Linked DNA regions of Homo sapiens: all the other regions are linked to region 1. Evidence: promoter capture Hi-C in human tissues and cell types (Jung and others, 2019). All regions are on one chromosome and are shown on one strand. Each heading gives the region's core, a stretch centred on a gene start or on the middle of the fragment in contact. The rest is flanking DNA. Distances are from core to core; before and after follow the strand shown.

What was found. The method cuts DNA at HindIII sites, captures the fragments that hold promoters and counts their contacts. A contact is called where the count stands out against the background at its distance.
Region 2: a contact is called between a fragment that was not itself captured here and the fragment with the promoter of HOMER1 in region 1, in 1 of the 25 tissues and cell types used here (dorsolateral prefrontal cortex).
Region 3: a fragment that was not itself captured here is called in contact with the fragment with the promoter of HOMER1 in region 1 in 1 of the 25 tissues and cell types used here (IMR-90 fibroblasts).

What each region holds. Positions count from the first base shown.
Region 1 is chr5:79,512,875-79,515,863 of GRCh38, reverse strand. It overlaps HOMER1 (homer scaffold protein 1), which reads left to right and starts at 1,730. Exons shown (of 9, transcript NM_004272.5): 1 at 1,730-2,989. RefSeq lists enhancers at 1,008-1,197, 906-1,453 and a silencer at 1,448-2,157. The HindIII fragment of the contact is 12,079 bases long and covers 1-2,989 here.
Region 2 is chr5:80,041,706-80,044,764 of GRCh38, reverse strand. All of the region lies in intron 2 of THBS4 (thrombospondin 4), which reads right to left. Among named protein-coding and RNA genes, the nearest start is that of THBS4, 7.9 kb to the right of the region's middle. The HindIII fragment of the contact is 6,867 bases long and covers 1-3,059 here.
Region 3 is chr5:80,061,240-80,064,269 of GRCh38, reverse strand. It overlaps THBS4 (thrombospondin 4), which reads right to left. Exons shown (of 22, transcript NM_003248.6): 8 at 2,438-2,575. Among named protein-coding and RNA genes, the nearest start is that of THBS4-AS1, 21 kb to the left of the region's middle. The HindIII fragment of the contact is 6,774 bases long and covers 1-3,030 here.

The DNA.
Region 1 (2,989 bases), core at 481-2,980:
TTTAAACTGCGTTGATATTGATCTATAACTTTCCTAATAATCACTTCATAGGTTGGTAATCCTATGTTTTGGATTTTCCAGGTCACTTCAGATTCAAATATTTTTTCCTAACGTCAAATGGTGTGTCTAGATTTTGGTCTGGAAAACAGGGTCACTAAATTTGTAGACTAACTTGAAACAGTATTGGCCTTTGGCAATACGCAGCAATTCTATTTCTTGGCCATGCTTATCAAGTTAAGTAAAATAAAATCAAAGTTCACTATATGATTTACCTAATTAAAAAATTGTTTTAACCTAATTACTTTAAAATAATTTAAAAACTCTGTAGTAATTTACAATGTAAAAAGCACTCATAATATGGTGTTTATAGACACACATAGCTAGTAAACCTATAGACAGCTACTCACCCTTGCCATACAGAAAATGCAAAACACACTTAAGAGATATTGTAATTACATATTATGTGGTCAAAACTAAAGAAGACGAAAATATGCTTGTGTTAATGAAAAAGGATTTGGTGCTCTTTCTTATTTTTAATTTTTAAATTTTAATTTAAATTCCACAGACTGAAACCCATATACTTTTTCTCTTTCTTGTTTTACTGGCTGGAGCCAAGTGTCATGGAACTCATATTCTTGATGAAGAGAAACTGAGAGGACACACTGGCATTTGCTATACGTGAACTAAGATTGACTCATTTTCCTATGTCAAAACTGCTATTTTGCAAATAAAATTACTATCCTTTATAACATTATTTCGTTTGCTTATTGCTCTGCTCTTTATTCTTTCGTGTTTCAGGTAACCACTAACAAAAAGTTTAAAAGTCGACTATGTCCAGAATGGCACTCTATAATTGAAAATTTAGGTGATTTTTCCGAAGTCCTGTTGGAAGCACATCTACCAGCAGTGTGATCAGGCTCTCCCTCCCACATTTCCCTGCTAGTCAGGACAAGAGAAGCCCGGGGGTGCTGCTGCAATAGCGGTGGGAGTGGGAGATAGGCTATTACCCGCTTGACACTGCACTTTTGCTACGAATGATTCACTCAGGTTTGGCACATTTGTTGCAAGGAAATCTCCTCCTCCCGCCGCTTCCTTGTTCGAGCTCCTCTCGGGCTGTCTCCTGTGCTTTGGCCTTTAAGGAGAAGTGAGAGCAGGTGGGCACACAGGAGCTCGCCGAGTCCTCCTCCCCCTGCTCCTTCCCTAATTTAGCAGTACTTCCGGCCGCGTGACATCATCCCCCGCACCTCGGTGACGTGAGCTGCGGGTGACGTGTGTGCGGAGAGAAGCGCGCTGACGTTGCTATTTAAAGGTCCTCCTGCGGGGAGGATGGAGACACAGCGCGAGCACCTGGTGTGGGGCGCGGAGGAGGCTGTGGCGGTCGGGAGCGGGGCCAAGAGCCAGAGGAGGAGCAGAGCGCACGGCCAGCCAGCCGCCAGCCTCTAGGGGAGGGGGGAAAAGAAGGACGAACGGACTGAGGGCCTGCCGCCGGCCCAGCTCCCCACGAGGGCCGCTCGGCCCCCCACCATCAGCCTCTCCGCCGCCTTGCGGCTGCTGCTTTCTCCCGCGGCCCGCTGCTCGCAAGGCCCGTCGGGCTCCCGGGACCAGTCCGCGCCCCAGCCCCCGGCCGCGGCTCCGCGGCGGCCACCGCCTCCCGTCCCTTCCCGCGAGCAGAGGGAGGGACCGCCCTCGCTCCCCGTTCTCTCCGCCCCCTTCCCGCCCCCCGCAGCCCACTCTGCCGCCGCGCTAGCTTCACGCCGGCGGCGCTGACCGGGAAAGCAGCACCCTCTTCTCTGCCAGCCGGCCGGCCGGCGGAGGCGGAGGCAGCGGCAGGCTTCAGGCCGCCGGGGCTGGCGCTGCTCTGCCCGGCGGTAGCCGGAGGCGGGCGCTGATGGAAGTGTGAAGAGGCGGCGGCGGGGCCCGGGGAATGTGAGGCGGCGCGTGGCGGCGGCGCGGAGCGTGAGAGACGAGGAGTAGGGGTGGGGGCGCTGGAGCGGCGGCTGCGCTTCGGCTTCGAGCCCAGCTCTCCTGGCCCCAACGCGGGCTTAGCCTCCCGCCTTGGCTCGGGCAGGCGCCCGTCGACCCTTCGGCCCCTTTCGCCCGCCCTGGAGCTGGGGGCAGGGTGCCAGTGGAAGCGTGGGGCTTGGCTCTGTGATTCATTCATTCTCCGCCGACGGGAGCCTCAGACCCGCTGTGCTCTGAAGAGAGGAGGGAAGAGGGGGCAGCCGCGAATGAAGGGCCGGGCACCAGCCGGGCTCCATTGTGCTCGGCGGCGGGGGGCGGGAAGGGGCTGAGGGAGGTGGGATCGGGTCCCCTCCTCCAGCTCTCCGGCGTGCGCTGCGCCCCCAGCCTGCTGCCAGCCTGGAAATGGCTCCGTTTATTCTCTTCGGGAGAATGAATCGATCCTGCCTAGCCTTCTCTTCGTCCTCCCCACCTCTTCTCTGCTCCGAGTCTTAGGAGGAGAAACATTTAAAAAGACAGATTCCAATGTGGAGTGCCGTGCAGGTTGCGAGCTGCCGGGTTTGCACTTCGAGGAGATTTTCCTGTGTAGTTTTTTTCCTAATGTGAGCGCAGGGAAGCCGTGGCATTACTGCTTTTGGGATTTTTATTCACGTGCACGTCGCGTTTGGTTGCTCGCTCCACCCCCGGAGACCTGGTGTGGTGGAGAAATTTGAACCCGCAGCCTTAGCTCCGAAAAGGCCGAGTTACCTGGCTCTCCCTGAGTGTCGAGGAGGACATGAGTGAAATGACCAGCGAACTCATTTTTTATAGGACTCGGTGAAGCCGGATTCTGCATTTCCCTACTTGTAGACTCATTTTGTGGAATAGAGTTGATCGCTGTCTCCTCCGCAAAGCATTTTAACTCGAATAAGCAAATGCCGCCTCTGTTTGAACGTTTTGGTATTTACAAGAGAGAAATCATTTTACCTAAGAGAACTAATTGAATTGGCAGCATCCTTGAAATACCTCCGGACAAGGATCTGGGGGTGGG
Region 2 (3,059 bases), core at 323-2,822, 530 kb before region 1:
CCCTTCAATATTTATTCATTAAAAAAAAAAATCTTTTTTTGGCTGAGTGTGGTGGCTCAGACCTGTAAGCCCAGCAATTTAGGAGGCCGAGACAGGAGGATCACTTGAGGCCAGGAGTTCGAGACCAGCCTGGCCAATATGGCAAAACCCCATCTCTACTAAAAAAATAGAAAAATTAGCTGGGCGTAGTGGTGCGCACATGTAGTTCCAGCTACTCGGGAGGCTGAGGCAGGAGAGTCAGTCGAACCTAGGAGGCAGAGGCTGCAGTGAGCCGATATCTAGCGACTGCACTCCAGCCTGGGTGACAGAGTAAGACTCTGTCTCATAAATAAATAAATAATTTTTTTTTTATTACCTACTATGTGTCAGATATTGTGGAATCCCAGAATTTCACAATGGTGTATGTCATTTTTCACAAACAAGTCTACTCTTCTCAGCCTCCATTTATTCTTTTCAATCTATCCATGAACTACTTCTATGTACAAGGCACCTTGCTAGGTGCTGCAGCAGATGCAAAGATAAGGGCTGTATAGTCCCTGTCTCAAGAGAGCTCCCAACCAAATGGAGAGAAGACCTAGAAGTAATTCAAGTACAAGGTGAGCTAAGATGAATGTCTTCCTTAAGAGGTACAAAGTCATATTAGAAAGAATATCAGAAGGAGCTGGAGATGGGTCTTGAATGTGTAGGATTTGGGTGTCAAGAGGTGATGCAGGATATGTGTCGAGGGAGCAGACAGCAGGAACAAAAGGATGGAGGAGAGGCAGCATGTGCGGCCCCAAGGAATGGCAATAGCCTATCTTGGTGAAGCTCAGGCTGCATGGAGGCTGGAATGAGGGATAAACTGGAAAGGCTGCTTGGGGCCATGCAGAGTGGAAGCCCCGAATGCCTTGCTGAGACATGGGTACATTATTCAATTTGGAAAGGGGGCCACTAGAGGTCTCAGAGGTCAGATGTATCTTGATCCAAATTATGTTTGTGAACAGTAATGAGGTGGCCTGGGGTAGGCTGACTTGGAGAGGGTGAGAGTAGAAGCAGAGAGCTCAGTGGCAAACTCTTTCTTTGCAGTCTTCATTAGCTACATTTTAATTTGTTTCAGGAGGTCATATGAGGCCCAGATGACCAAATTCTGCTCTTTGATGCTGTGTAGTCACCCTCCTTCATCTCCCAGTCCTGGACTTTAATGGAGGGAAGGGTGTGTTTTATTTCCTACTCAGGTGTTTTAAGTCAGTAGAGATCCACTTGGATTTCTTCTGTTTCACCGTTTTCCACGCAAATCAGCAAAAGAGGAGATCAGCTGAACCTTGGCCAGATGAATGCTGTCTGGAGCCTACCATGTCCAGGTAGATAATTTGTGGAGGGTTGTGGGGAGAATTATGTCAAGTCAGCATGGCCACCACTGAACACTGCAGTGGGGAGTCTCAACCACAGGCTCTGTCTTTTCCTTGGATCTGATGGACCCAGTGACTTCTTTTTATTGTTCCAGTCAGAATGGACTTCTCTTTCCTGAAACTTTTATATTCACCAGTGCTGGCAAATCTTCGTATTTTTTCCGACTGCTCCAGTGAAACAACTTCTCTGTGTCATTCTTCAACTCTTCAAGCTCTAATAACAGCATAAATCCCTCTTTGCCTTATGAGAATTCTCATTTCTAGATTCTTCCAGGACTCCTTCTGCCCCCACAGTTTCTAAGAACAATTTATCTTTCCTAATAGGTTGGAGGGTAGGGAGATGTTCATCTTTCAGTTCTTCATCTCAACCCTTTCATCTTTTCCTCTAATTTTTTTTTTCTTTTGAGACAGAGTCTCGCTCTGTCACCCAGGCTGAAGTGTGGAGTGCAGCGGCACAATCTCAGCTCACTGCAACCTCTGCCTCCTGGGTTCAAGTGATTCTCCTGCCTCAGCCTCCCGAGTAGCTGTGACTATAGGCACATACTGCCATGCCTGGCTAATTTTTGTATTTTTAGTAGAGATGGGGTTTCTCCATGTTGGCCATGCTGTTCTCGAACTCCTGACCTCAGGTGATCTGCCTGCCTCAGCCTCCCAAAGTGCTGGGATTACAGCCCCTAAAATATTTGATCAACTGGTATTTACAGCTGACTCATATTACTGGTGATTCTTCAGAGGAAACATACTAACGATCCCCTTACCCTCTACCTACTGCCCATTAAATCCAGTGTTACTCTTGTCTATACAAACTGAAAGGATCCGTTCAGGGGAAGTTGCTTCCTTGTGTTTCCCAGCAACAGACTTTCCACAATGGGCTCACACATACTGGCCAATTTAGAAATAGAGGGTGAGAGGCAGTGAGGGCAAAAGCTTGGAGCAGTTTTTTACTCTGCAGAGGAACTTCTGGCCATTAAGCTGGATGAACCGAAAGAAAAATCTTTGCAATGCCTCTGAAATAGACAGGTTAGGAGAAGCTGCTGATCCACAGATGAAGAACGGTGATTTTTACGATCACAAACTGAGTAGCTGGGTTGTCAGAAGATGAGCAGTTCCTTCAGCAGATGCTAGGCAAAATGGGGCTGTTTGATTCAAGGCAGAGACATGGGCAGAATCCCCCCTCATTAGGGCTGAAGATGGGGAAAGGGGGACAGGAACGGTTGACCCATCTGCTGGCCATGTCCTCAGACTCACTTTATTATCTGACACCTCCTCAAGGCCCCTGACAGGCTATGAGGCACATACAGAGAAAGCAGACTTGGGAGTAGCGTGGAAGCAGGCAAGAAGCATGTTGGAATCTGACAGAAAAGAAGGGGTTAAAGTCCCATTCATTTATACTTTTAACTTTAGAGTCCTATGAAAGTTAAGAATTAGAAACTTCTTTCATTTCCTAATGCCTGCAGATTTAAGTGTACAATCACAAATATAATCTAAGAGAGAGTTTGAAGCACTAGGAAGTGTCCACTTTGTAAAGCAAACTGAAATAAACATAAAACCCAGCCAGAAGAACCAGCCCTCCTATTTTATTAAATGCATGAAGCAGCAGGAACACGCATCTGTCACATTCCTTAATAAACAGGAACAGGTGTTGTCCCCCGGGGAAGGAGTGGAGGAGAA
Region 3 (3,030 bases), core at 389-2,888, 550 kb before region 1:
TTTTTGGCTTGTGTTTCTGCATTATATGTATAACAGATTTGGAACTCATAACTGTATGTGGTACAAGTGTGGTGCTTTGATTTGCTGTAGGCAATTTTCATTTTTGTCAACCATGTATTAAAGCTAAAGAGCTTCTTTGTTGTTTCTTAGGGCTACTAAAGGTTTCCTGTCTCCTTGTAATTGATAAGGTGGTTCTCTGAGGGTCCTGGACTTATGCAGGGGTGTTAGGCCTTTCCAAAGTTCCCAGACTACATTGCTGCATCCACTCCACACAGGTGGTAAAAGCCAGGTCCCTGTTACTAAGACCTGGACCCAACTCCCACCTCCCAGGATCTGCTGTGGCATCAGCTCTAGTCACAGTTCTGGCTTTGAGTTTTCTCTTTGTTTCTGGACACTGCGCCATTTCCTTTTATTTTCTTTGACTTTGGAATGCAGTAACATTTGCTGTTAAATTTAGCAAGGTGGCTCCCTTCCACTTCAGTTCTGTCTGCCTTGTTACTGGAAATCTATTGAGAAGTGCTCCTTACTACCTTACACCAAGTACCTTATGTTTCCTTGGTTTGTTCTTAGAGATTTTGTCTTTAGAGGACTCTTAACAGCTTCTTATCATTCCTATATGTCTAGCTGGCCTCCCTTTTCTAGTCTAAAAAATCATGCCCTCCAAGGACTTCATGATTAAAACACCTAAAGCAATGGCAACAAAAGCCAAAATTGACAAATGGGATCTAATTAAACTCAAGAGCTTCTGCACAGCAAAAGAAACTACCATCAGAGTGAACAGGCAACCTACAGAATGGGAGAACATTTTTACAATCTATCCATCTGACAAAGGGCTAATATCCAGAATCTACAAAGAACTTAACTTAAACAAATTTATAGGAAAAAAATCAAACAACCCCATCAAAAAGTGGGCAAAGGATATGAACAGACACTTCTCAAGACAGTTATGCAGCCAACAGACACATGAAAAAATGCTCACCATTACTGGCCATCAGAGAAATGCAAATCAAAACCACAATGAGATGCCTTCTCACACCAGTTAGAATGGCGATCATTAAAAAGTCAGGAAACAATAGGTGCTGAAGAGAATGTGGAGAAATAGGAACACTTTTACACTGTTGGTGGGACTGTAAACTAGTTCAGCCATTGTGGAAGACAGTGTGGCGATTCCTCAAGGATCTAGAACTAGAAATACGATTTGACCCAGCCATCCCATTACTGGGCATATACCCAAAGGCTTATAAATCATGCTGCTATAAAGACACATGGACACGTATATTTATTGTGGCACTATTCACAATAGCAAAGACTTGGAACCAACCCAAATGTCCATCAATGATAGACTGGATTAAGAAAATGTGGCACATATACACCATGGAATATTATGCAGCCATAAAAAAGGATGAGTTCATGTCCTTTGTAGGGACATGGATGAAGCTAGAAACCATCATTCTGAGCAAACTATCGCAAGGATAGAAAACCAAACACCGCATGTTCTCACTCTTAGTTGGGAATTGAACAATGAGAACACTTGGACACAGGGTGGGGAATGTCACACACCAGGGCCTGTCATGGGGTAGGGGGAGGGGGGAAGGATAGCATTAGGAGATATACCTAATGTAAATGACAAGTTAACAGGTGCAGCACACCAGTATGGCACATGTATACATATGTAACAAACCTGCACGTTGTGCATATGTACCCTAGAACTTAAAGTATAACAATAACTTAAAAAAATCATGCCCTCTAGAACCCTTTGATAGGCAGCTAGGAAATAATAAACCCCTGCCCTTCTTCAAAGCTAATAATTTCCCTAAGGTAGTAAAATATATTTATAGAACAACCATTTTTAAGGGCTAAAAACATCAAAAAGAATTTCACAGTCAGTCAGTTAAATAATGACCAGAATATAGTAGAGCATTGGGAAATAAATGGAGACTGTCAAGAAGTACTCAAGTGCTTTATGGCAATTTATAGCTTACATAAGAAAAAGGGGAGGTTGCCTTGGGGGATTATTTCTACTCTTAAAATCCCCTCATCTCTGAAACAGCTTCGATTGGCAACAATGACTCTACAAAAGTGACCTAATTTTTCAAAGCTTTTGTCTCCGTGGTTCTCAACTTATTCTGCAGGACAAAATGCTCAACAGCTATCAACAAAATAAGACTGAAATTATGCCAATAGCCATATTACCCCATTTACTGTTTTTCTAGTGATACTCTATTATCCCCTCTTAAAAGCTTCCTCCCTTCTAGATTTTATAAATGTAAATACTCAGAAATGGTTGAAAAACTTCCTAATTTGCTCATTTTGCACCATGACATTCCACATGGCCTTGACTGCTCATGGAGGTAAAGGTTTATACCAAAGAGGTGGGAACCAACCACAGTTGTTTTGTTAAGATGAGAAATGAATAGAAACCATGACTTCAGCCTACCTGCTTGTTTGACTTGGCAAAACTGATCCCAACACCCTGCACCATGGGCCCTGTGAAGCCCACTGGGCAGGCGTCACATCTGAAGCCAGGAGACAAATTTATGCAGTGCACGCCCGGGTAGCAGGGATGGTATTTGCACTGGAGACAAAAAAGTTCAAAGTCTTTAGCCACACCGAGAAAACACTCTCAAACTTTTCTTCATCTATTTGCACATACTTGTTTAGTCATTTAACTATCTTTTGGTGGAAAAAATAATAAAAGGAAATAAAGGCTTCCAACTCCAGTTACCCACTGAATCCCTGACCACACAATCTGAGGTTGCTTTTTAGTAGGCTTTGCTGTGCTGTAGAATAATGGCACATGCATGTTGAAAGGGTCCTTGATATTAACCAGCCTACCTCTCAATGTAATAAGCTCCCTGATATTCTGACATGGAATTTGCAAATCTCTGTGAAAGGACTATGTCCCTGGACCACTTAGCTGGCTGTTAGATGCCTCCAAAAGCATCAGCAAACCAACTACTCAATCAGAAAGACCTCGAGAAGGCAAAGCCAGGGCCGGTGCCTCTTCATTACCATGTAATCCCTCAGGGC